2 separate regions of the Homo sapiens genome follow, and region 1 is linked to region 2. The links are contacts of gene promoters, found by promoter capture Hi-C in human tissues and cell types (Jung and others, 2019). All regions are on one chromosome and are shown on one strand. Each heading gives the region's core, a stretch centred on a gene start or on the middle of the fragment in contact. The rest is flanking DNA. Distances are from core to core; before and after follow the strand shown. Region 1 has its middle 190 kb from the start of MIR8054. Region 2 holds the start of CCDC179 (coiled-coil domain containing 179).

Region 1 (6,163 bases), core at 3,393-5,892, 370 kb after region 2:
CAGTACTACAAAGGGGAGAATACACTGGGAAATAAACACAATAACAAAGTAAATTAATGAACATTCTCTAGACTGACATTCTCTGACAGTTTAGTAGGGGATGACTGGTGCTCTTTGACTTTAGGGAAATATTACCTTTAATCCATTCTGAGTCTAGGCTTACCAAGTAATCTTCTCATGGACAATTTGCCTATCCTGGTGTCTAGCATCTGGAAAGGAGTGTCTTGGATCAGGGACTCAAACATCCCCATTATTTAAAAGGCATACTTCACATTACAAATATACACATGTGGAGTCTAGGTTTATCTGTCTCTTTCTTCTGCAATTAGTTTGTGAAAGTCTGTTACCAAGAGATAGAAGGTCTCTGAGGGAACAAGAACATCCCAGCTTTTGAGCAGAAGAGACTCTTTCCAACTTTATTTCACAGCGACCAGCAGATTCTGCTCTTCAGGTTGGCATTTCCCTCTCCACAGCTGAGGTAACTGACTGTTGGGTGGCAAGGATCCTGAGCTAAATGCTACAAGACATCCTACCTGGCACAAGTTTATATATGCCTCTTACGAAGAAGATAACCTTTAATACAGACATGCATTTCAGTAAAACATCACAAGATAACAAGTGAGAGGAATAGCAATAGCATGACAACTACCTGGAAACCCCCAGATGGCTAACAACCCCCTGCCAAAGAGAGAAAATATTACCTAATCTGGACAGCTGCTCTCAGATCAATAAACTATACATGGTGTTCAACAACAAAGTCTGTGGCTGCGTGTGCTGCCATACACATACATCCACCCACTCCACACCCACACACCCACACACATATACTATATATTTCTGTCTATGAAGTGGGTGCCATTGAGACAAATAACATACTGAACAAGAGACCAGAATCCTCACTTAAATTGGATCATTTTGGGAAACTATCACTTGATCCTCAATTTCTTATTCTATAAAGCACAGAGGCAAGAGGAAGAGAAGAATGAAAAATATTTCAAAGTATTATAAAGATCAAATGGGATGATAGATACAAAACACTTAGGACCATGCCTGACAAATCATAAAGTCTCAATATCACTTGTCTATATTCAGTTCAATAAACACTGAACCACAGTCATAAATTCATGGTACCTGAACTCATTCATTTACTTATTTTATGGAGCACCTCTCATGTGCCAGCCACAGCTATGAAGGATGCAAGAATGAATAAATCATGCTTCCTGCCTTTCAGAAGTTCACTTTTTATCAAGGGAGAAAGACATGCAAATCAATAACTGTAACTAGTATGATGGAACTCCAATTGTCCACATATAAACTCAGACAAAAGGCTCAAAGAAAAGCTTCACAGAATGGTGGCTTCTTGGTCCGTTTCTTGGTGCATGATACTTAGTTCAAGCCTTGGAAGAGCAGGAAAAAGCATGTAGTTCCACCTCTTTACACCATTCTCACCTAGTGATTTCCTCTTCTTTGTTGAATGTTGTCTTGAACTTCTGAGAAATGGGGAAGGGACATGAAAATCTAGTAGTTGTTCAGCATTTTAGTGTGCCAGTTGCTTTACGTATAATTTAATATATGACATAGCTAGAATTAAATGACTTTAAATTTTTAAAACAATAGACATCTTGGTAGCTATTGTGTTTATCTCCTTGGCAAATTCCCACTATTCCCATCCTTCAGAGGATAGATTTCCCCTTTTGAAAAATGCTAGTAGACTCCTTTGCTCACACGAATTGACTGTTTGGATGGAAAAGGAGGGGCATTCAAAATCATTTCACTGGCTATGTTTGTTGGAGGTAAGAAGAAAGTTTCCCCCATTTTTTCAATTCCATTAATTCTAAGCCTCAGAACAACTAGGTGCTTTTTCCATGCCCCATGATGGTTTGAAGAGAAAGAGGAAAAGAAAGAAAAGATGGAGAGAAAAGAGCATCCTAATGATATCAAATCCCCTATTCTAGTCCCTGAAATGCTGGAGTCGGCCTAGTATCTTTGCCTCCTGGTCCTGTGAAGCATCAGTATGTTTCTAATAAAACCCTTTATTTAAAAAGTTGACTTTCTAAACACAACATAAGTAGTCCTTACTAATGCAGATTATACAGTCACCGAGAATGGTGAAGATTTGAACTCAGATGTGTCTGGCTCCATAGCCTGTGCTCGTGTTTACAAATGGGAATGCTCTATAGTCATGTGAGCTCTTTGAATTTCTCACCATTTGCTCCTGGACATTCATTTGTCAGTTATTTTGCTTGCAGGACATATACGTGTCTAGAGCATGCTAAAGTAAATGATGGAATTGCTTGCTAACGACATCAGGGAGAGGAAAACAATATTTGGACTAATTGAAAGAAGGCAATGTAAAGCATTACCAACGTGTGTGAGCTCTGAGCCTTGTCTGCCTACTTTCAAATCCTGGCTTAATAGTTATGCAGTTATAGGGCCAAGGGAAAACTTCCCTTTGCCTTCTGAAGGTTTGATAAAAAATCAATACTCAAAGGGCAGATTTATAGCAGAAAAGTCATACAAATGTATTAGCATGCATAGAGGGAAACTCACAGAGGATTTCCCCACCACGCAATGGAGCATAGATGGTATATACCCTTCTTCTTAGGGGAAAGGGATATGGGGAAGTCTGCATAAGTTTAGGGGGATAGTAAATAATTTTTAGGGAAATTCAGTGGGCTTGAATTAGATAAGATGGAAATTTATAACTTGTTTTGTAGAAGTGTTGTGCCCTTGAACAAACCCTAATCCAAACTTATGAGACAAGTTCAAGTCTTTGCTGAGCTTTATTCCAAAGTTATTGATATAAGCCCTCAATGAAGTAATGAAATTATAAGGAAGACATTGTGGAATTAACTAAAAAATAGCAAACTTTTCAAAGAGCAGACCCTATGGAAGGATCTTTTTTTCCTGCAATATGAGCTCAGTTAATGAAAACTCTGGGAAGAGATCAGAGGTACATGTTGTCTTCTTTTGCAGGTCTAGACTTTAGGCAGATGAGGAAACCTCAGAGAACAACTTCTTCCTGTGCTTTGGGATAGACAGAAGATTGAGAGATAGAAAAAAGGAGGGGAAGTCAGGGAGACCTTGAGGCTTCTTAAGTTCAGTATGTTATAGTGCCATATTTTGAGGCATTGGTTTCTGAGCCTCAAGACAGTCTTTCTCAAATTTTTCTCATTTGTACAATGAGGGAAAGGATCACCCATCTCATAGGATTGCTGTGAAGATTAAATGAGTTAGTGCTTTTAAAGCACTCTAGTTACAGCTAGTGGTTTCTTGATAAACACCAGATTTTTGTATGAACATTAAACCAAAATATTTTACCCTAAAATATTTTAAGATGGCTATTCAGAAAGGCTAGAAAAGCAGCAACATCTGAAAAGCTGTCTTTTGTGGAGGGTATTTGCATTTGTAGAGAAAATTTGCGTTGATGTAGTCAGGCTTTCTCTGACATTCCCCGTTGTCAAGATCTAAGAAAGATGAACTGAGTCTGACACCTTTAAAGGTCTGAAAGAAAGATTTACCATCTATTCTCTCTGAGGGCTGCTACCTGTAAGGTTTCATGTACATAGCAAGACCACCTTTGGAAGCCAAGCCTCTTCTTCTCTCTTTCCCATAACTTGTCTTGACACCACAACCCATTTTGTTACCATAACCTGTTTTGCGACCATAACCTGTTTTGTCACAATCTAAACTTACATTTTTTTCTGTAGCCTCAAGATGGTATTGTAGGGGCTGAGAAAAAACTTCCCCTCTGCCCTTTGAAGGTTTGTTGAAAAATCATTGACAAAAGACAGGTTAATAGCAGAAAACCACACAAATTTATTTGATGATAATTTTACAGGAGCTTTCACATTGAAGACCCAAAGATACAGGATAAACTGTCCATTTTTGTGCTAGGTTTAACGAAGTATGGGCAGCCGTATAGAGCTATGACTAGAAAAAAATGGGTATGATCTAATACTGATAGACTGAGTGGGAAAATCCAGCAAGGCCTGTCTGTTCAGATTTTTCTTGGCCTCTCTGTGTAGCATTCCTTTCTTCTGGGTATGGAGAAGACCCTCTCTGTAATGGGGTCCTTATATCCTACAATCAAACAAGGTAGGACAGATAACTTATTTTTCACCAATTAATACACAGAAAGGTTGTTGTGATGTTGAAATTGGAGCAATATTTTTAGGTTTTATGGCTGATTTGTGGTGAAAGGGTTTCTGGTTTCTGTGATCCACCTTGGAGAAGAATGATTCTAATTCTTATGGCTAGTCTCAAGGAGGCAAAAAGCTGAAGACAAAAGGGCATGAGTTCAGAGAGAGTTACTCCTGAAGCTTTCATTCTGGGGCATTATTTTCTGAGAACTTACAGTATAAAAGTGTCAGCTATCTTCTTTTTCTTTACAGTTTGCTATTTTGATAAGTTTCCCATGCACATTAATACATTTGTATGGTCTTTCTTCTGTTAATCTGCTTTTTGTAAGTTAATTTTTCAGTGACCCTTCAGAGGGTGATGGGGAAGTTTTCTTTTGGCCTCTAGTACATGTATTTATTTATCTGGGATAAATGCCCAATAATATAATTGCTGAGTTATATGGGAATTGCATGTTTATTTCATAATAAGCTGTCAAATGGTTTTCCAGGGTTACTCTTTTATTTTTACAGTCCCACCAGCATTGTATGAGTAATCTTGTTTCTCCATATCCTTGCCAATATTTGCCATCTTTTTTTAGTTTTAGCCATTCTGATGGGATATTAGTGATATCTCACTGTGGTTTTAAGTTGCGTTTATCTAGTGGCTAATGACATTGAACATGTTTTGTGTGCTTATTTGTCATCTGTGCATCATCTTTGGCAAAAGTTCTGTTCATATCCTTTGCGTATTTCTTAATTTTTAAAAAAATCGTTCAGTTTCAAGAGTTATTTATATATTTGACATTTTAGTTCTTTGTCAGATATATGGCTTGTAAATGTATTCTACTAGTCTGAAGCTTGTCTCTTCATATTTTTAACATAATCTTCCACAGGGCAAAAGTTTAAACTTTACTAAAGTTCAATTTACCATTTTTTTCTTTCATGAATTATATTTTTGGTTTCAAGTCTAAGAACTCTTTCTTTAGATCTTCCTGAATTGCAATTATTTTGCCCCCTTTTTAAGTTTTATAATTGTATGTTTTACATTTAATTCCATAATTAATTTTAGTTTTTTTGTATAAGGTGTGAAACACTGGCGAGGTTCAATATTTTGTCTATGGTTGTTCAATTGCTTTAGTGCCATTTTTTAAAAGGTCTACCCTTCCTCTATTGAAGTGCTTTTCCATATTTGCCAAAAAACAGTTGACTATATTTGTATGAATATATTTCTAGGTTTTAAAGTGTGTTCTATTTATAATGTGACTATTCCTCTGCCAGTACCAGGCCGTTTTGATTACCAAAGCTATATAATAAGCTGGAATATCTGGTACAGTGATTTCTCTCACTTTATTCTTATTTATAAAGATATTTAAGCTACATTGGGATCTGTGCCTTTCAATATAAATTTTAGAATACTCCAGTCAATATCTACAATATTTGAATGGATTTTGATAGGATTTCAATAAATCTTGACATCAATTTAGAGAGAATTAAAACTTTATTATGTTGAAGCTTTCAATCTATGAGCATGATATGTCTCTTCATTTATTTTAATCTTCTTTAATTTCTTTCACTACATTTTGTAATTTTTAGCATACAGATTCTGTACATAATTTGATAATTATATTCCTAAATATTTAATTTTATTTGCCATGATTTTAAATGGTACTATGTTTTTAATTTCGGTTTTTATATGTTCATTGTTAGTAGAAATGTGAAACACTTGTGACTTTGCTAAACTCACTTATTCATTGTAGGAAAATTTTAAAGCATTCCTTGAGATGTTTTACATAGACAATTGTGTCATCTGCGAATAGAGAAAAAAATTTTCTTCCTTTTATAGTGAGAAACAATGGATACTTCTGTATGTCTTATATCTTTCTTTTGATTTATTGCAGTGCCTAGTACTTTCAGTTCTATGTTGAACTATAGTGATTACAATAGACATTTTTTTCCTGTTCATTTCTTAGTTAGAAACTATTGAGCCTTTCACCATTCCATTTCCCTCTTAATAAGGACACATGTCATTACAATGGGCTTGC
Region 2 (6,139 bases), core at 3,220-5,719:
TTATCTATTTAAAAAATTAATTAATAATTACCAATCTTTCAAAATAGAAAATACTAAACCCAGATGGTTTCACTGATTACCAAACATTTAAAAAAGAAACTACTAATTCTTTACAATATCTTGCAGAAAATAGAAGCAGAGGGAATACTTCTTGACTCATTCTGTAAGGTGAGCATTACCCTAATACCAAAACCAGAAAAAGATATTAAAAGACAGGAAAATGACAGACCAATACCTCTCATGAACATAGATGTAAAAATTCTCAACAAAATATTAGCAAATTGATCCAAACATGTGTAAAAATAATTATACACAATCTGAGACTTATCCCAAGAATGTAAGGCTGTTTCAACATCTTAAAATTATTTAATGAAATTCATCACGTCAAAAGGCTAAAGGAGAAAAATCATATGATCATATCAACAATGTATAATAAGAATTTGACAAAATCCAGTACCCATTTATGATAAAAGCTCTCAGTACTAGGTGTAGAGAGGGATGTCTTTCACTTCATAAGGAACATCTCTAAAATACCTAAACCTCACATTATAGTCACTGTCAAGAAACCAGATTTTTTTCAGTTAATATTAGGAAAAAGGCAAAAATGTACCTTCTCACTTCTGTTCAACATCATAATGGAAGACATAGCTAATGCAGTAAGACAAAAAAAGGAAATAAATGTTATACAGTTTGAGAAGAAAGAAATAAATTGTTCTGTGTCTTCGTTCACAGACGACCTGACTAAGTAGAAAATCTCAAAGAATCAACAATAACAATAAAAAACAAACAAAAAACTCTTGGAAGTAATAAACAATTATAGTAAGATTAGAGGATGTAAGTTTAATACAGAAAATTCAATTGATTTCCTTTATGCCAGCAATGAACAATTTGAATGCAAAGTGAAAAACAGCCTCCCATTTATATTAGCAACAAAAAATAAAATACTTAGGCATAAATCCAAGAAAATATGTATAAAATCTGGATGAGGAAAATTATAAAACTCAGGTAAAAAAGATGATCTAAATAAATAGGAGAAATTCTATGTTAATTTATAGGAAGACTCAATATTGTTAAGATATCAGTTATTTCCAAACTGATCCTTTGGATCCAGCACAATCCCAATAAAAATTCTAGCAAGTTACTTTGTAGATTTCAACAAACTGATTCTAAATTTTATATTGAAAGGGAAAAGTTCCAGAAAAGCCAACACAACATTGAGGGAAAAGAACAGAAGAGGACTGACACTACCTGATTTCTAGACTTATTGTAAATCTATAGTTTTCGAGACAGTATGGTATTGATGAAAAACAGGATTCAACGAGACAGAATAGCGAGCTCGGAAATAAACCCACACAAATATATAGTCAATAAATCTTTGATAAGGAAGCAAAGGCAATACAATAGAGAAAAGATAGTCTTTTCAACAAATGGTACTAGAACTTGACATCTACATGAAAATGATAATGATAATAATCTGGACACTGACACCTTTCAGTAACATTAACTCGCTATGGATCATAAACCTAAATGTAACATACACAACTGCAAAACTTCTAGGAGATAATACATAAGAGAACTAATGTGACCTTAAATTTGGCAATAAATTTTCAGATATATAGCCAAAAGATTTAAGTGATTAACCTTATGTAGTCATCTAACATATGGCAAAACAAGAAGTGGAGTCCAGAACAACCTGGTTTCAAAGATAATCCTCTTTTCATTAAACCATATCACCTCCAGGAGATGACAGCAGAGGATATTTAAATAATAGATGAGATAAGACTTTTAAGACTGAAATTAGAAATTTCTCAAAGAGAAAGGGAAAAAGAAAATTTATAGTGAATATTACATGAATTAAAATGATGATATCAGTTGCATTTAATGATCTGTTAATTTCAGTGAAACCTCTATACTTACTAGGAGTCCTGGTTCTGGAATAGGAGAAGGCCTTGAAAACCTTTTATTCAGTCTCCTCTTCTCTTTCTTTAGGTGTTGCATATTCTGAATACGTTTATTTGCAAGCTTTAGAAAAATTAAAATGAAAGAAAAATCATACTTTTTTGTAACATATAAAGGTAACATTCTGATTACATTTTTGGTTTGTGTCAATAAAAAAGGTAAACACCACCACTGCAAACGGTTCACATAACTACATAGAAATAGGGCGAAAAATCTCTTTCATTCAAATGTATGGTTCATAGGTGAAGAAAACCACATTGGAGCATCAGTAGGGTTTTCAAATAAGACTATTCTTGATTCTCATCTTACCACTGCATACACTTAAGTAGATCCAGACTCATGGATTAGTGTGCTTACTTTTGCTTTAAAAATAATGTTCATTAAGGACACCTAGGGAATTTTCTCTATAGAAATATGAAAACAATTATTCACTCCTTTGAAATGTTGCATGACACACATAGCTTTTTATGCCACCATTGTGTGGCGTCTACAAGTAGCAGATACCTAGGAGATCAAACTAGAATGCTTTTAAGATAATGAAATACAGTAATAGAATAGAAAGGATATGAATAACAATAACTTTTTTATCCACTTCCAGTGAAGTATCAATTGGTACAATTGCTTTGAAAACCAACTTTTTAAAAAATCCACTGATAACAGAATATAAACTTGAACAATTGCTTTGAAAACAGTGTGGCACTACTTTCTAACAATAAAAAATTTGCTTTTCCTATGATTCAACCATTACACTCCTGCCTAAATAATCAAATGGCATTCTTGTGCATGGGGCAAGAAGATGTGTACTAGAATGTTTGCAATAGTACTATTCATTTTAGGAAAATGTAAAAATAACACAATGTCCATAAACAAGAGAAAGGATTAATGAACTGTGATATGTTCCATGACAAAATATTGAACAGCAGTGAAAATAAAGAAACTATATACAGCAATGTAGATAAATCTTAGGAAATAATATTGAGAAAAAAGAGTAAATCATACACTAAATTTTGTGTGATCCTATGTTTATAAAGTTCAAAACCAAGCAAAAGCAAATAGTGCACTTATAGAGACACCTATGTAACAAACTATTAAAGAAGAGGAAGAGATTGATGTAGCTAAAATTCAAGATGGAGGTCACCTCTGGGAGAGACCTTAGGAGGTAGAATAGAAAAGCATTCCCTAGCTGGATTCAGAAATACCTAATATTTTAATCCTTAAATGGGAGGCATATTGTAATTTATAAATTATATCTGCCACATCTATTTTTGTATATGTGTCAAATGTTACATTAAAAAATAACATAAGCCATTTAGTTTACCCTAGTTAAGACCCATTCCAATAGTAGTCATTAGATCCCAGAGTCCCAAGAAATATACTGAAGTGTCTACTTAATACAAGTTCTATTATGTTAGGGACCACTACATAAAGGAACAAGTTACAAGCACAATGTTTAAACAACCAGAACCTAGTTCTTTATTTAAACATTACCTGCCGCTCAGTGACCTCTGAAGGATGATGTTGTCTTGGTCCTTCCTATATAATAAACAAAATTAAAACACATTCACACAAAAAAGTCATTAAAAACAGTAAATTAATTATTATAATAGGAAGCCTATGCTACTTTTAAATTTATGTATTATATGAATCATTTCAACTATAAGAAGCAGGTTAAAAAAACAAAAAGAAAAAAGTCAAGTTCAGAATAAAAACATCTAAGATAAAAATTGTGGTGGAAGATGGAGACGATATTATGATAAAAAAGAACCAGCTGTGAACCACCTTACAGATAAAAGGCAGAGTATAGAGATATATTCGGGAGGGAAAGAATGTACGAGAAATCGAAAAATGCATGTTTCTGCTTCTACAGGACTTCAGTGGTGCTATTGAGCAATCTAGTCTTCAATCTGGTTTCAAAGCCTAGGAGTAATTGGTGATGTGATTGAGATCGTATGGTTTTCTGAAGCACAGGGAGCTTGGCTGTTAGTTTTCGAGATTCTCACCACTTCCTCTATTTCTTGATTGTACCTTAAATAACTCCTCCTTCACTCGTTTTGATCCAATCTTTTAACCAGAAGACCCAAGAGCAATCTGTTCCACATCTGGCAATTGAGAACTTTATCCTGCTCCCTACTTCTGTAATTTCCACTCCACCTCCTAGGGCAGGCCAATGGGGCAGTCAACATACAGGTGATGTACCTGACCCCTAAGCACACAGTGGGTGGAGCTTTTTCTTGTTTCAGAGGGGTCCAGCAGTCAGGATGTAGTCTGTCTACATCACCTGGAATTTCCCAACCCCCAGCACCAAACCACATTTACAAGAGTTAGAAGCACCATGGCCAAGGCCACAGTGGCCTGGAGCTCAAGGCACAGGACAGAGTGGCAGAGTTGAGGTTGTAGGCCCCAGCAGACTCACAGGGTTGACTTGGGAAGGCTCGATGTCCCAGCAATACAGGCACATGCCGTGGAGCCTTAGGGCGCCCCCTGACGCCTACTGCCTGTCCTGGACCAAATGATTATGGGGCCCCACACCCACAGCCTTCAAGCCCTGCCCCACCCAGTTCCATCACTATTCTCTTTATTCTTCTCCCTGCTATGGGCCCCACCCTTTCCCCAGTTGTATTCCAGTCCAGTGCAGGGAAGGCAAGGCCTCAAGTTGTCTGCAGTGTCTTTGAGTTATGGAAGTCAGTTTACCATAATTCCTTATATCCTATCCTTCTTCCTCAGAAAATTGCAGAATACCAATTTCCCACCTTTTCTACCCTTCATCTCTCTAGTCTCTCTCTTTATAAAGCCCCTTTCATTTGTTAACATATCTAGCTTAGTCTCCATGTTCTCTTACTTCAGACTGTCTATCTATTGTTAGGGTTCTCAATTCCACCACCTCATTGTTGTTCCTTCACAGCTTCTAGTTGGGCTGACCCAACTGTCTGCCTTCTTCCCATCTATCTATACCAGATGAAGTGAGGAGAAGCTTGAAGATGGCTGGAATACATATTTGTGACCCCAGATCTATTTATTTATTTATTTTCTTTTTTCTTTTTTTTTTTGGCCAAGTCTCTCTGTCGCCCAGGCTGGAGTGCAGTGCTACAATCTTAGCTCACTGCTACCTCCACCTCACTGCTACCTACACCTCGAGGGTTCAAGCAATTCTCCCATCTCAGCCTCCCGAGTAGCTGGGACTGCAGGCGCATGCCACAATGCCTGGCTAATGATTTTGTAGTTTTAGTAGAGACAGGGTTTTACCATATTGGAGGCTGTTCTCAAACTCCTGACCTCAGGTGATCCACCCGTCTTGCCCTCCCAAAGTGCTGAAATTACAGGCGTGAGCCACCAGGCCCGGCCGTGACCCCCAATTTAAACTGGGTCCTCAAAGCTGCTTAAGACTTTTATGTTGCACCAGCTTTTTTTGTGCTCTGCAGTATTCCCTTCAAATTGTCTTCTATTAAAATCTCTGAATCCACCAACACTCAGGCACTTCCAGTAGAAGTGGGACAATCCGTGCTTCACACTCTGATGCTGGTGAACATGTATAGAGCTTACTATGCTCAGCACTGTTACATGAATTTATATGTGTTAACTGATCAAGTCTTTAGACCACTCAAGGTGGGTAAGGGCATGATTATAATCACTGGGAAACAAGGCGCTAGCATGTTAAATTGCTTTCTTGAAGTTACGCTATTAGTAAGAGGGTGAGCTGGAATTTAAATCCAGGGTTGGCCCTTAGATCATGTGCTCCTAATTATGTGCTATGCTACCATTGCTTTTGAAGCCCTCACTGGGGCTACCTCAATACCACCTAAAATCCTATAACCTTGTCAATATCCACATTATCCTTTTCCCTGTAACCCTGTCGAAATGGAAAAAAAAATTGGTATCCCTTCTGTTGCCTCAAATAAATCTATCCATTTGCATTTGCATGCCATTTCCCTCCTAGGAGCCTCCTCAGATCTAGCTCTACAGATTGTTCCTCTCCTTGTTAACTTCTCTATATTGCCTCTTTCCTTTAAACATTTCATTACTGTAAGTTCAAATCTCCCCCTCTCCAAACTAATAAAGGAAACTCCTTAGAACAACAACCAATTGTATCTATTGCCCATCCCCTCTATATAAAGTAAATATTCATGAGAGTGGTCTGTACCTCTGCCTCTTCTTTATGTTCAGTGTAAGATTTGGCTTACTG

Evidence for each region. The method cuts DNA at HindIII sites, captures the fragments that hold promoters and counts their contacts. A contact is called where the count stands out against the background at its distance.
Region 1: a fragment that was not itself captured here is called in contact with the fragment with the promoter of CCDC179 in region 2 in 1 of the 25 tissues and cell types used here (mesendoderm cells).

Annotation. Positions count from the first base shown.
Region 1 is chr11:23,228,568-23,234,730 of GRCh38, forward strand. No RefSeq gene overlaps it. Among named protein-coding and RNA genes, the nearest start is that of MIR8054, 190 kb to the right of the region's middle. The HindIII fragment of the contact is 3,622 bases long and covers 2,832-6,163 here.
Region 2 is chr11:22,856,005-22,862,143 of GRCh38, forward strand. CCDC179 (coiled-coil domain containing 179) reads right to left here and starts at 4,470. Exons shown (of 4, transcript NM_001195637.2): 1 at 4,373-4,470; 2 at 3,448-3,492; 3 at 1,918-2,022. The coding sequence starts at 4,417. All of the region lies in intron 3 of LINC02718 (long intergenic non-protein coding RNA 2718), which reads left to right. The HindIII fragment of the contact is 9,229 bases long and covers 1-6,139 here.